Linked DNA regions of Homo sapiens: all the other regions are linked to region 2. Evidence: promoter capture Hi-C in 16 types of primary human blood cells and fetal thymus (Javierre and others, 2016). All regions are on one chromosome and are shown on one strand. The core of a region is centred on a gene start or on the middle of the fragment in contact, and the rest is flanking DNA. Distances in the headings are between cores, read along the strand shown. Region 1 holds the start of ARL6IP5 (ARF like GTPase 6 interacting protein 5). Region 2 holds the start of PSMD6-AS1 (PSMD6 antisense RNA 1). Region 3 overlaps SLMAP (sarcolemma associated protein). Region 4 has its middle 1.9 kb from the start of RPP14.

The links. Contacts are between HindIII fragments. The CHiCAGO score rates a contact against its expected background, and 5 or more counts as called.
Region 1: a contact is called between the fragment with the promoter of ARL6IP5 here and the fragment with the promoter of PSMD6-AS1 in region 2, in 3 of 17 cell types (naive CD8 T cells, total B cells and total CD4 T cells). The highest score is 11.9, in naive CD8 T cells.
Region 3: a fragment that was not itself captured here is called in contact with the fragment with the promoter of PSMD6-AS1 in region 2 in 1 of 17 cell types (total CD8 T cells); the score reaches 6.1 in total CD8 T cells.
Region 4: a contact is called between a fragment that was not itself captured here and the fragment with the promoter of PSMD6-AS1 in region 2, in 1 of 17 cell types (total CD4 T cells). The highest score is 7.8, in total CD4 T cells.

Annotation. Positions count from the first base shown.
Region 1 is chr3:69,082,732-69,086,186 of GRCh38, reverse strand. ARL6IP5 (ARF like GTPase 6 interacting protein 5) reads right to left here and starts at 1,250. Exons shown (of 3, transcript NM_006407.4): 1 at 964-1,250. The coding sequence starts at 1,139. RefSeq lists enhancers at 1,170-1,479, 3,087-3,246. The HindIII fragment of the contact is 15,418 bases long and covers 1-2,096 here.
Region 2 is chr3:64,010,264-64,013,485 of GRCh38, reverse strand. PSMD6-AS1 (PSMD6 antisense RNA 1) reads right to left here and starts at 1,522. Exons shown (of 2, transcript NR_189168.1): 1 at 1,444-1,522. PSMD6 (proteasome 26S subunit, non-ATPase 6) reads left to right here. Exons shown (of 8, transcript NM_014814.3): 6 at 1-47; 7 at 2,531-2,608; 8 at 2,722-2,935. The coding sequence ends at 2,818. PSMD6-AS2 (PSMD6 antisense RNA 2) reads right to left here. Exons shown (of 3, transcript NR_038286.1): 3 at 1,243-1,689. The HindIII fragment of the contact is 1,623 bases long and covers 796-2,418 here.
Region 3 is chr3:57,757,990-57,761,443 of GRCh38, reverse strand. The region is part of intron 2 of SLMAP (sarcolemma associated protein); the gene reads right to left. Among named protein-coding and RNA genes, the nearest start is that of SLMAP, 3.4 kb to the right of the region's middle. The HindIII fragment of the contact is 8,010 bases long and covers 1-3,454 here.
Region 4 is chr3:58,302,807-58,305,945 of GRCh38, reverse strand. No RefSeq gene overlaps it. Among named protein-coding and RNA genes, the nearest start is that of RPP14, 1.9 kb to the left of the region's middle. The HindIII fragment of the contact is 151 bases long and covers 1,581-1,731 here.

The sequences.
Region 1 (3,455 bases), core at 1-2,500, 5.1 Mb before region 2:
TTTCTCCCAAGCCAGCTTGCTGCTTCTTCCCTCTACGTCTGCCCTGAAATAGAAATGTCAGACATTTAAGTGCAAGTGAGTCCTTTATAAAGTCTGAGGGTGGCTTTTTCTTTAAAGATGTGTAGGAGATAATCAGCAAGATTGAGAATATCACCACCCATCCTGCATAAGCGAGAGAAGCATTTCTTAAAGGGTGAACTAGAAGGAAAGGTGGTTTCTAGGAAAGCAGGTGTACATGCAGTCTCAACACAGGATACTTTGTTAAGTATCAGGTATTGAAAAGGCCTTCTGATACATTGAAACCTCAGGCTAGGAAGCGAAGACAGAGAAAGTGACCACGCCTGGCCACTGCTGGAAGAAAATGCCAGAAGGCCATCTTCCCACAGTCATGGCAGCCTTTACCCCACAATGGGAGATGCGCCACCAGGAGACACCCCCCCTTTTGATCCCAAGCTCAGCTTTACTGTACAGTGTGGCAGGCATTAGGCAGAGAAAGCAGCAAAGTGCGTCGCCACTTGGTTGCCCTTTTTACACTAGCCCGGGTCCACACCCTGCCGCCCCAGCCAGCTCCAGGGTAGGGTTACACCACTTTCCTTTTTCTTCTTATTTTTAAAAGACGAGGGCGCTACAAATATCTTTCCAGCAAGAGCCCGATCCTGGCACGCGGGCGGGGGCAGGGGGGTGGGGGAACTCTCATTTTTCTTCCCTGCGGCTGGCAAATTTTCCCCGTCCTCTTTCCCCTAGGGCCCCCCTCAAGTCTCAGCCCTTGGTGCAGAAAATGGGGCCCCAGGTTACTGCGGCCTCGCCCTGCAAACAAGTTTCCACTGGCTTGGCCGCTTGCAGAATTGCCAGGGCAGGCGCTGAGCGTGGTCAGAGAGCGTCTCTACATCCCGGGATCTTGCACCCCGAGGCCCCTCCGTGCTCGCCCCGGATCGGTGTCCCGGGTAGGGGGACCCCACTTACCCCACAATGGAAATCATCATGGCAGCCACCACCAGGTAGTTGGTCTGGTAATAGAGCAGGTTGCTCACTACGCGGTTGTTCCATTTGGAAATGTCCCTGAAGTCCGGCCGGGCAAAGCGATCGGAACCCGGGAAGAAATCGTCCCAGGCGCGGAGTGGGGCGATATTAACGTCCATGTTCTCAGCTTTGCGTTCTTCGCCTCCAGAATCTGGCGGCGGCGGCGGCGGCAACCGATCAGCTGAGCTGAGTTGGAGAGTTGACAGCGGCTCCGTCTCGGTCGGCTTTGCGGTTGGCAGACAGCAGAGCAAAGGAAATTGGGAGTGGGCGGGCGTGTTTGCTCCTCTTTACTTCTTCATTGGCTCTTGGTTGGGTACAGGAAAACAGGAACCTCCAGACAGAACAAGGGACTGAGTGCAGAATAGAGACGAAATGACAGAAAGCAACTAGCGGAAATCCCCTGTCTGAAGGGAGGTGGCAATGCCTTCTCTAGCAGCAGAGAAGCTGCCTCCTTCGAAATACCTTTTTTGAAGGTTTACCTAGGAGTGTGTTCTCTGACTTAGAGAAAAATTTTGGCAGCTGTGCAGATGCCAATCTAAGTGAAATGAAATGGAAGGCGACTACAGTGTTAATGGAGAATGAGCTGCTTTTGAAAACTAAGTCTTACTAACCTCTACACATCTGAATGCAATTCCCATGTTTTCTCTGTTTCACCATGAGTCACTATGTGTGAAATCAGATTGGCAAAACGGGAAAGAAGGTCATGTAGAACAGAAGGGCTGGTCTGTTTTTTTCACTTCTCTTCTTTGTTCTCCACCTCTGTTCTCTCTAGGCTAAATTGTTGGACTGCTATGCCATTCTGATAAAGTAGGCACTCTGGCCACTTCAGTCCTGAGCTGGGCATGTTGCTTACATTTTAAAGCAAACAGTTGTCTGCAGTGAACTAGTTGTTCTGCATCCAGCATTTTCTGGGCAGAAATATGCATTCCACTTCAAAAGTTTTCTTAGTTTTATTGCAATATTTGGTGACAGCTTTCACTGAGGGACCACAATATATTCATAGATAACGTGATGTTTTGTATCCCAGCCCAAAGACCTGGCAAAAGAAGTATTCGTTGTCAATTCTCTTCTAAGCTTCCAAGGGTCATCTTTTTTCAGTTAAGGGGCTGATTGGTACAATGCATGAGAAAAAAAGTAGTTTGTTTAATTGTATAATGTAATAGGTAGAATTCTAAGGTGAAGATTTCTAAGATAACAGAGTCTCTAAGCCCCTAAGTGGCTTAGACAAGGTGAATTCACTCTACTCAGATCACCAATTTTTGAAAACTTGGAAAGTAATGAAATATACTAATGCAAAGTCTAGAAAACATAATTTAATTTTCCTTATTAATTCAGAAGACAGTTAAGGAGCTTACAGCGACTCTAAGAAATTACTACTACTACTGTTGTTTAGGAAAATTTGGTGATTGCATGGAATTAGTGCTAAGATATATCTTATGTGCTGCTTTTTGAATAAAGTTTAAAATGTGAAAATATTCCTGAGTGCTCATGTTTTCTTGATTCTGGAAAAATGGGATGGTGTGAAGTCAGAGAAAGCAAAATTAGAGTCGCAGCTCCTTCCTCTCTGGCAGGTGACTTTGGAGAAACTACTTAATCTCTCCCAGCCTCGGTGTCTTCATGTGTAAAGTGGGGATAATGGAACATCTGCCATATAGACGAGGCTAAGTGAAGGAATGTATAGGAAATGCTTAGTGTATAATAAAGGTTCACAGTTATATGTTACTATTATTGTTATTAGCAATAGGATAGCCCACGATTCTTGTTTGCTATTAATAGTGCTTTAATCTGATTTGTTTTCTATGCTTTCATTATAAACATCTACTAACTTTTCTCTACCTTGCTCCAACTTTATTGTTGTGGATGTATCTGGGTAGGGGGAAAAGGTTGAGAATATTCAGTACAATGCCAGCAAGTATTTCGAGTTCTTTTGAGGCTCTGTGAAAGCACTGTGGGTTTTTTTTCTTTTCTTTTCTTTTTTTTTTTAAAGAGGAGAAAAATGTAATCCTGCTCTGCCTTCAAAACTTCTGCAATCCAGTGGAAACACTAGTTAAATATGAGACAGTAAGAGGAGTGCTAAATAGAGATGCACTGAGCCTCAGTGCTCAGTTACAGGAAGTCAGAGGGTGTGGAGGAATTCCCCAGGGCTTCAGAATGTCAAGAGGCAGCACTGTGGGCAAGCTGAGTAAATCATCTTGGTCAAGATGAGAGTGGGAACTCCAGTGGGGCCCCACACTGTTGGTGAGATTTATGAGTATTAGAAGCTGTAACTAAGAACTTTATCTTCCAACTGCTCAGAACTGCATGACCAAAAGCTGTCAAGAGTGTATTAGTAACAATATGATTACTCCTTGATCACAGGCAATTGATACCCAAGAAAGAATTAAACCTCTTTAGAGGTTTAAACATAAATAAATAAATTCTGAAAAGACAGAGAA
Region 2 (3,222 bases), core at 273-2,772:
GGCTATATGGCAGAAGCGTTTGGTGTTGGTGTGGAATTCATTGATCAGTAAGTTTGAATAATGCCATGTTAATTGAAGTTTTAAAGTTGCCTTTTAAAATATGTGAACTTGTACAATTTTTTACTTGTTTACATTGGTTCCCTCAATCTTAACGGGGAGGGGAGAGGTTTTTTTCCTCAGTATTATCAAAACATTCGTATCCTGTTGCCTCTGCCTTCCTCATGTCATGTCTGCCCCTTGCATTAACAGATGGGAAGATGAGTTGTAGTGAGGCTAAGTGATTTGTTAAAGGTCATTAGACCAGTTGTTATCAAAAGTTGTCTTCTGTTACTTCTTTGTAGACCACACTGCAGCTACGGTAATGACTCTTAGATCTGATATTTACAGTTGGTCATATTCCCTCTGATAATTCCTTCCAGTTTTTAGGTTGCTGCTGCAATTCTGGTCAGATTGGTTGTTAAATGTGGGACTTTTAGTACTTGCATCAGTGATTAAACAAATAAATACTTAATGAGCCATTCATTACTATATGTTTGGTATTGTTTTACAGCTCCCTTTTCACACTTTCATTGTAGTAGTAGGGAAGAGATGGCAAGGAAGCAAATAAATATAAAACGTAATTTCACATATAGAAATGAACCTATGGAGATGAGAAAATGCTATCCTTACGTACGGCATGCTTAAGGAGGTGAGGTTTGCTCTGAGATTTGAATTGAGAGGAGTCAGCCATATGGAGTCCTTCTGCGTGCAGAAAAGGGAATAGAAAAGGCTAAGGCTTTGAGCCAGGAATAAGCTTGGATGTTGTAGGAACAGAAAATGTCAGGGTGGCTCCAGCATAGTTGGAGTGGTAGGAGATTTTGAGGATAATATATGGAGAGTTAGGTAGGTAATGATTTGTGTAGGGCCTTGTAGGTCATGGGATGGAGCTTGAGTTTTAAGTAAGTTTGATAGGGAGCCATTGGAAGATTTAGAGCCCAAGTTACATGGTCCTATGCAGTGTCTTTATATAAGAAATAGAGTAAGGTGGCAGAGAGGACCAGTTGTGCTGTTTAGTAGCTCTTAGAGGAGATGTTACCGTGGCGTGGACGAGGGTGGTGAGAGTAGAGTTGGGTAGGAGACATACTCAATATGGGATGTCCAGATGGCATCTAGATCAGTGGCTCCCACATGTAGGTGTTTTTAAATGTTGATGATGGTGTTTTCAATGGTCTGCAGTGGAAACTTTAAATGAAGATGCATTTCTTTTAAATAAGACCATTCTCTTTCTAGTATTTTTTAAATTTCGAACATCCATAAAATTGTAAAGAAAGAATTGTACAGTACATTTTAACATATTTGCTTGTTACAATCTATACATTTTATGTTTTTTAACCACTTCAAAGTAAGTTTCAGACACCAACACATTTTTTAAATGATCCCTACCATTTTTTAAATGATCCCTACCAAAATGGAAGGCTGGTATCCCAAGGTTTTGTTCCATTTCTCAATTCTAGTCTGTGAAATTGAAGTCTGATGACCACTCTTAAGAGGGCTGTTCATTAGGGTGCGGGCTGGGCATTATGAGTGTGTTTTTCATGAGTCAGTGGAAGGAGGGGCTTGTTGTGAGCAGTGCATGAGAAAAACGGCTTGGCTTTGCTTCTTTTTCCAGCTCTGTGGCCTTGGTCAGGTTACGTCTCTTCAGTATCGTAACTGTAATGTGGAGATAAAGCCTTCATTAGTTAGGGGCACACACCGCAGTATTCCTTAAGTCATCTTGATGACAAGTGAATGCAAGGCAGCTGGTACCTTTCAGGTAGTAGTTGAATTCAGGTAGTATTTGTTCAGTTTTTTTTTTTTCCCTTCATGTTCTAAGACCAGCTTGAGAGGCAAAGGTTGTACCACTGAGCTCTAGTTGTTGTTACCTAAAAAGGCCTTGTTTTAAATTTCTGTGATACCTAAGAATTTCAAATCTGGGTTGTCATGGATTCTTTATTCTTTTTTTCTCCCTTAAAAAGTTACATTTTAGATGAAATCCCCTTTTTTAAAATGGGCAAAGCAATAATTCTACATCATTTCTCCCCTTCCCTTCCACTTGTTTAGACTAAGATATGTTAGAGAGGGAAAGGGTCGTTGTTTTAGTAAATACTATTGCTGTTGACATGTTAATACTATTGCTGTTGACATGTTTACTGATGGGCTGTGTTCCATAATTTTGTTTTAGGTCTTTTGTTTGAAACAGTTTACTGTTTTTATCAGTTTTGGTCCCTAATTTTTCCTAACCTACAGTTTTTCTCTGAGTACATATGGTTTCATTGTTTGATCTACTTTCTATCTATCTGAATATGAACTTCTAGGATCATGTTTATTCTAGTAGATGATGACTTAAAGCCTGCAGTATAGGAGGGACAACGTCAACTACTGCATGTGCAATAACAAGCTTGAAGGGAAGCTAAATGTTTGTTACAAATTTAAGACAGTATTTTAATGCCGTTTGCATTTTTCTAAGAATTTTCTATAAAGCTAATTCTGTTATTTTTTGTCTCTAAATTAGGGAACTGTCCAGGTTTATTGCTGCCGGGAGACTACACTGCAAAATAGATAAAGTGAATGAAATAGTAGAAACCAACAGGTACTCTCATTTCTCAGAATAAGGGGCATTCCTAAATTTTAAAAGTAGGTCAACTATTGTCATGGAATAATGTGACTGGTAAATAATTCATTTTTTCTTGAATTTATTTATAGACCTGATAGCAAGAACTGGCAGTACCAAGAAACTATCAAGAAAGGAGATCTGCTACTAAACAGAGTTCAAAAACTTTCCAGAGTAATTAATATGTAAAGCCATGTAACTAACAAAGGATTTGCTTTAGAGATAATTATTTGGAATTTTTATAGCTTACTTCACAATGTGCCCAGGTCAGCTGTATAAAATAAATACTGCATTGTTGTTTCTTTCCATTTATTTTTTTCTTAAACACATAGGCCTTCTAGAATCGGGTCCACTTATGTTAAAATAATGTCACTTGAATTATTCATTAATGAAAATCTGGTTTATAGGGTAAGGTTGCAGCTGGGTTCAGCTAGGTTCAGCTCCTGACTGCCTCATCAGTAAAATACGTCAGTAAAATACGGATGTTGACACAGCCCATTATCGCTTACCTTTAAATCTCTTACCTGTAAGCTTCCCGATTTTAGAAAGAAGAGTAGTGGCCTAAAATTAAACAAACAGTGTCTCCCACTTTT
Region 3 (3,454 bases), core at 70-2,569, 6.3 Mb after region 2:
GAATGCCTGTAATCTCAGCTACTTGAGAAGCTGAGGTAGGAGAATCTCTTGAATCCAGAAGGTATAGGTTGCAGTGAGCTGAGATCGCACCACTGCACTCCAGCCTGGGTGACAGAGCCAGACTCCGTCTCAAAAAAACAAAAAACAAAAACAAAAACAAAATTTATTCTATATATGCCATCACATTAAAGAAAATAATTTCTCATCACCTTCCTAAGACTCCATAGCACTATAGCAAATTGCACAGTGTTGTCTAAATAGTTCCCTCTTCCCCACTAAACACCCTCTCTGCTGAGTATTGGGTGCTTAGTAAGAGCCAGGGACAGGGTGCTAAGTGATTTATATAATTACCTCAATTCTCAAAACAATAATAGGTACCATTATCATCCCCAGATGTTTAAAAAAAAAAAAAAACCTGGCCGGGCGCGGTGGCTCATGCCTGTAATCCCAGCACTTTGGGAGGCTGAGGTGGGTGGATCACCTGAGGTTGGGAGTTCAAGACCAGCCTGACCAACATGGAGAAACCCTGTCTCTACTAAAAACTCAAAATTAGCCACGCGTGGTGGCGCATGCCTGTAGTCCCAGCTACTCGGGAAGCTGAGGCAGGAGAATCACTTGAACCCAGGAGGGAGAGGATGTGGTGAGCCAAGATCGCGCCATTGCACTCCAGCCTGGGCAACAAGAACGAAACTCCTTCTCTGAAGGGATTCTTTTTTTTTTTTTAAGAGACAGGGTCTTGCTTTGATACCCAGGCTGGAGTGCAGTGGCATAATCACAGCACTGCAACCTCAAACTCCTGGGCTCAAGCAACCCTCGTGCCTCAGCATCCCGAGTAGGTGGGACTACAGACACTGCAAATTTCATACGAGAACTATTTGGTCGCACTGTGGGTTTTCTTTGGAACTGTATCCCTCACAGTGTCTGGCACATAATAGATGCTCAATTAAAACCTACTATCTGTCCAAACCAAAACTTTAAATAGTTAATTCCTAAAACAATTCAATGACATGGTAAGATCTGACAGAGCATCCGCTATAACTAGATTAAGTGGTATAATAATCAATAATTACATCTATATCTAAAGTAGTGGTCTCATAGCCTGCGTGTTATTTTAGCTAATAAAGCAGGAGGAAAAAAGTGAAAATGGTAGAAATAAGCCATATCTACCATTCAAAGATAAGTTTTTCTGAAGAACTAATTTCATGGCCGGGTGTGGTGGCTTATGCCTGTAATTCCAGCACTTTGGGAGGCCGAGGAGGGTGGATCACTTGAGGTCAGGCGTTCAAGACCACCCTGGCCAACATGGTGAAACCCAGTATCTACGAAGAATATAAAAATTAGCTGGGCATGGTGGCATGCGCCTGTGATCCCAGCTACTCAGGAGGCTAAGACACAAGAATCGCTTGAACCCAGGAGGCAGACGTTGCAGTGAGCTGAGGTTGCGCCACTGCACTCTAGCCTGGCCACAGAGCGAGACTCCATCTCAAAGAAAAAAAACAAATATTAACATGTCATCTCAATTCATGAAACAGTCACTACTGACCTATTCTTAGTTATCTCAAAATAACCTATTGTGAGAGTTTTAGTACAGCCATGGAAAGCACTGGGCATGAAATCAGTATTTTTCAAATAAGTAAAACAAAAAATGGGAGTCCCCTTCGAGTGTTTCATCAAAGAAAGTGCATTCGCAGAGTATGTACTGTGAGCCAACCTGTTGTCTGATTAGTTTAGACCTGTTGCCCAAGAACATAAAATGGTGAAAATGTAAAAGCTGGTTGAGTTAAGGCACTACTTAGTAGTAAACTGATGTTTGAATTCAACTGCTGGAAAAATGAGTTCTATGAATATTCATTTTAAAGAATTATGAGGGCCAGGTGCAGTGGCTCACGCCTGTAATCCCAGCACTTTGGGAGGTTGAGGCAGGTGGATCAACTGAGGTCAGGAGTTCAAGACCGCCTGGCCAACATGGTGAAACCCTGTCTCTACTAAAAATACAAAATTAACCAGGCATGGTGGCGTGTGCCTGTAATACCAGCTACTTTGGAGGCTGAGGCAGGAGAATCACTTGAACCCGGGAGGCAGAGGTTGCAGTGATCTGAGATAGCGCCACTGCACTCCAGCCTGGGTGACAGGAGCAAAAATCTGTCTCAAAAAAAAAAAAAAAGGATTACGAGTAATCTATGAAGTATTTTAGGCACCCTAACTTCAGCTTGCGAGGAGCGAGTGAAGGGTCTGTTCCACAGGTAAATGAGGATCTGGTGTTAAACAGAAAAGTTAACATACTCTTCAGTTCTCATCCTACACGTAAAGTATAGATATTATGCAGCACACAGCACTTGGACAATCTTTTCCTCCTTTCTTTAAAAAATAATTTACAAAATAATTCCTTAAATCAGTAGCTGCCGAAGTATCATTTTTTTCTCTTCCTTTTGAGGCTCAGGTTTCTTTCATTTCAAAACATATTCTTGAAGACTTAAGTTCTTCCTTTAAGAAAGATTTAATTATTTAACTCAGAAAGAGGGGCAAAAAGTCAGGAGGTGAAACCTGAGACAGTCCTATTAGTCTTACATAACTTAAAGTTGGAACTGATTCAGTAGCTCAGCTAAAAACCTGAGGTTTAGGCACAAAGATGAGCTCTTTAGTATACTCTCCACAAACATAAATAAACAGTTTTTAAAAATGGAAAGGATCTTAATTTCTTTCTTCACTTCTTAAAATAAAAGCACATACATGTATAGTAACTTACGATACTAACATAAAAATACTAAATTGGTTACGCTTAAAATGAAAAGCACTGAATTCATCGTATCACATTTAAGTAATGCTATAATTGACAGAATAGGGTATAATTTCAGAAAGTAAGTTTATTTCCTAACACTAACTTTTGAATAGCACCTCTGTAAGTATGCATTAAGTACTTAATAAGTGCTGCAGGGAACATCAAAAAGTGATTTTCAAACGCAATATGTGTATGTTCTCCAACTTGTAAAAAAAACTCTGAAAATATATAAAGTTACAGTTGTTCATGCTTAATTAAATTAGCTTTGATTATTGCAAATTACTCCTCCAAGGGCAAGTATGTATCAAACCTTTCAAAAATCTTAGGTTTATATCAGCAATTATCCTTACTAGAAAGGTCCTGATCTGAACTCACCTAAAGCTATGTGTTAACTACATTTCACCACTAAGACACTTGAGCCCCGGGATAATAATGGCCACGGATTCCCCGAATTGCTTCGAGAACTGCTGCTTGCTTAATAAAGCGCTGAACTGTGAATTCACCTTTCTAAACAGACTAAAAGCAAGACGCCAAGTTTCACTATCTAGTTTGGGATTTCACTGGGAATGACCACGTTATCAAGATGCCATAGCCCTCCTGAGGCTTTTAATTACAATACCTTCTCTGTTTTCCATTCAACCACCTCAATCAAATTTCCACTAGAACCAGGCACAC
Region 4 (3,139 bases), core at 407-2,906, 5.7 Mb after region 2:
GGCTCAAGCGATTCTCCCACCTCAGCCTCCTGAGTAGCTAGGACTACAGGTATGCTCCACCATGCCTGGCTAATTTTTGTATTTTTAGTAGAGACGGGGTTTCACCATGTTGGCCAGGCTGGTCTCGAACTCCTCGCCTCAAGTGATCTGCCCACCTTGGCCTCCCAAAGTGCTGGGATTACAGACGTGAGCAACTGCGCCCGAGTCATTCTACACATTTTTTTCATTATATTATAATTTATTTATTGAGATGGAGTCTCGCTCTGTCGCCCAGGCTGGAGTGCAGTGGCGCCATCTTGGCTCACTGCACCCTCCGCCTCCCTTCAAGTGATTCTTCTGCCTCAGCCTCCCAAGTAGCTGGGACTACAGGCATGCACCACCATGCCCAGCTAATTTTTGTATTTTTAGTCGAGACGAGGTTTCACCATGTTGGCCAGCATGGTCTCAATCTCTTGACCTCGTGATCTGTCCACCTCGGCCTCCCAAAGTGTTGGGATTACAGGCGTGAGCCACCGCGCCTGGCCTAATTTTTGTATTTTTAGTAGAGACAGGGTTTCACTATGTTAGCCAAGCAGGTCTCAAACTCCTGACTTCAGGCAATCCACCCACCTCGCCTCCCAAAGTGTTGGGATTACAGACGTGAGCCACCGCGCCCAGCCTACAAAATTATATCTAGCATCTCCTCTCCTCAAGATCTCCTATGTCAAGCACTCCCCAAAGATAGGACCCACTCTCAGTGTCCCTTGTGACTCCCAGCACATAGTAGGTGTTCTATCTAGGCCGTCCTGGAAAGACCCACAAAGTAAAGACTTACTTTGTGCTAGGCACTATGCAAAATATTTTACATATGTCATCTCATGGAACCCTCACACAATCCTGAGATGGCTATTACTATGATCATCACCATTTTAGAGGTAGAAACTGAGGCACAGGCCAGGCGCAGTGGCTCATGCCTGTAATTCCAGCACTTTGGGAGGCTGAGGCGGGCAGATCACTTGAGGCCAGGAATTCGAGACCAGCCTGGCCAGCATGGTGAGACCCCCATCTCTACTGAAAATACAAAAATTAGCTGGGCACGGTGGTGCACACCTGTAATCCCAGTTACTCGGGAGGCTGAAGCAGGAGAATTGCTTGAACCTGGGAGGTAGAGGTTGCAGTAAGCCGAGATCACACCACTGCACTCTAGCCTGGCAACAGGAAAAGAAACTGAGGCACAGAGAGGCTAAGTTATTTGCTCAAGATCACAGTTATAAGCAGTGGCATGGGCTGTCTGATTCTAGCCAGTGCTCTCCATACTGCACTGTATTACCACCAATTGAGGGGCTGCAGTGGGAAGGGAAACTTTAGTGTAACCCCCATGAGGATGGGGCCTTGTCTGTGTTTCTCACCACTGCATCCCAGTTCCTGGTACCCAATGGTGACCCAACATCTATTTACTGAAGGCATTTGTTCATAAATGGATGTGCTGGTTTTGCTTGGGTTGGGGGGCAAAGGGTTGCCTTGCACAGGACAGTTGAGTCAGCGGGGATCTCCTTCCTCAATTATTTTCTCAAAATCCCACTGTGTTGTTTCCAGAAGCTTCAGTCCTCAACCTTGGCCATGCTCTCCAGTTCTGTGGTTCCTACTTTCTTCTTCCTTCAGAGGAGACAGGGCTTGTTCCAGATGTGGGAAGAGGTGGAGAAAGCAAACACAGACCCCACAGACCCAAGTATTATCTTTCTCAAAAAAGCTTGATTTCAGAAGCTGCCAGAACTTGCTTCAAATGCATCCTCTGCCACTTACCTACCTCCCTCATCTGTCACATGGAGAGATTATTAGCATCTACCTCACAGAGTTGAGGGAAAAAGAGTTGATGGTATAAAGTGTCTGGCACCCCAGGAAACCCTCAGTAATGGGAGAGGGTTCCTGTAAGCCAGCTGCCTGGCAAATGTATCCTGCCAGGTGGCCCAGGAAAACCAGAGCAATTCCTGTATTTTGAACTTCAAGGAACAATAGATAATTTTCACCCTGCTGCAACAAACCCTGAAAATGAAGTGTCTTCCCAGTTGCCTGAATTCTCTCATGCTGTCTTATTAATTCAGAGCGGAGGATAAAAGAGATGCCTTTGAATGATAAAGACAAAAAACTTGTTTTTTGGCTGGGTGTTGTGGCTCAGGCCTGTAATCCAGCACTTTAGGAGGCCGAGGTGGGCAGAACACCTGAGGTCAGGAGTTCAAGACCAGCCTGGCCAACATGGCGAAACCCTGTCTCTACTAAAAATACAAAAATTAGCTGGGTGTGATGGTGCGCACCTGTAATCCCAGCTACTCGGGAGGCTGAGGCAGGAGAATTGCTTGAACCCAGGAGGCAGAGGTTGCAGTAAGCTGAGATCACGCCACTGCACTCTAGCCGAGATGACAGAGCGAGACTCTGCCAACAAACAAAACAAAACAAAAAACAAAAAAAAACTTTTGTTTTTCAACTAAATTTTATATTAAAAAATCGTTTTTGGACAGTGTCTCACTGTCACCCAGACTGTAGTACAATAATGTGATCATGGGTCACTGTAGCCTCAACCTCCCAGGCTCAACCGATCCTCCCACCCCAGCCTCCCAAGTAGCTGGGACTACAGGTGCATGCCACCATGGCCAGCTAATTTTTAATTTTTTTGTAGAAACAGGGTCTCACCATGTTGCTCAGGCTGGTCTTGAACTCCTAGGCTCAAGCGATCCTTCTGCGTTGGCCTCCCAAAATGCTGGGATTACAGGTGTGAGGCACTGCACCATGCCTAAATTTTATCTTCTGAATAGGTACTGTAGGCTTACAGCATACATTTCAAATGACATAAAGGGATAGATATTAAAAAGTGAGTCTCCCTTCCACCTCTTCCCCTGTCAGCCTCTCCCCTCTCCAGGAGCAACAACTAGTATGAGTTTCTTAAGTGTCCCCTGAAAAATATGATATGGGGGCTTTTACCTCTTGACGATGTATCTAAAATTGCTCCAAATCAAAACACACAAGGCTGCCTCAGTCTTTTTTTCTTTTTTTTTTTGGAGACAGGGTCTTACTCTGTGGTCCAGGCTGGAGTACAGTGGTGCAAACATAGGTCACTGCAGCCTCAAACTCCTGGGCTCAAGTGATCCTCCTGCCTCAGCCTCCA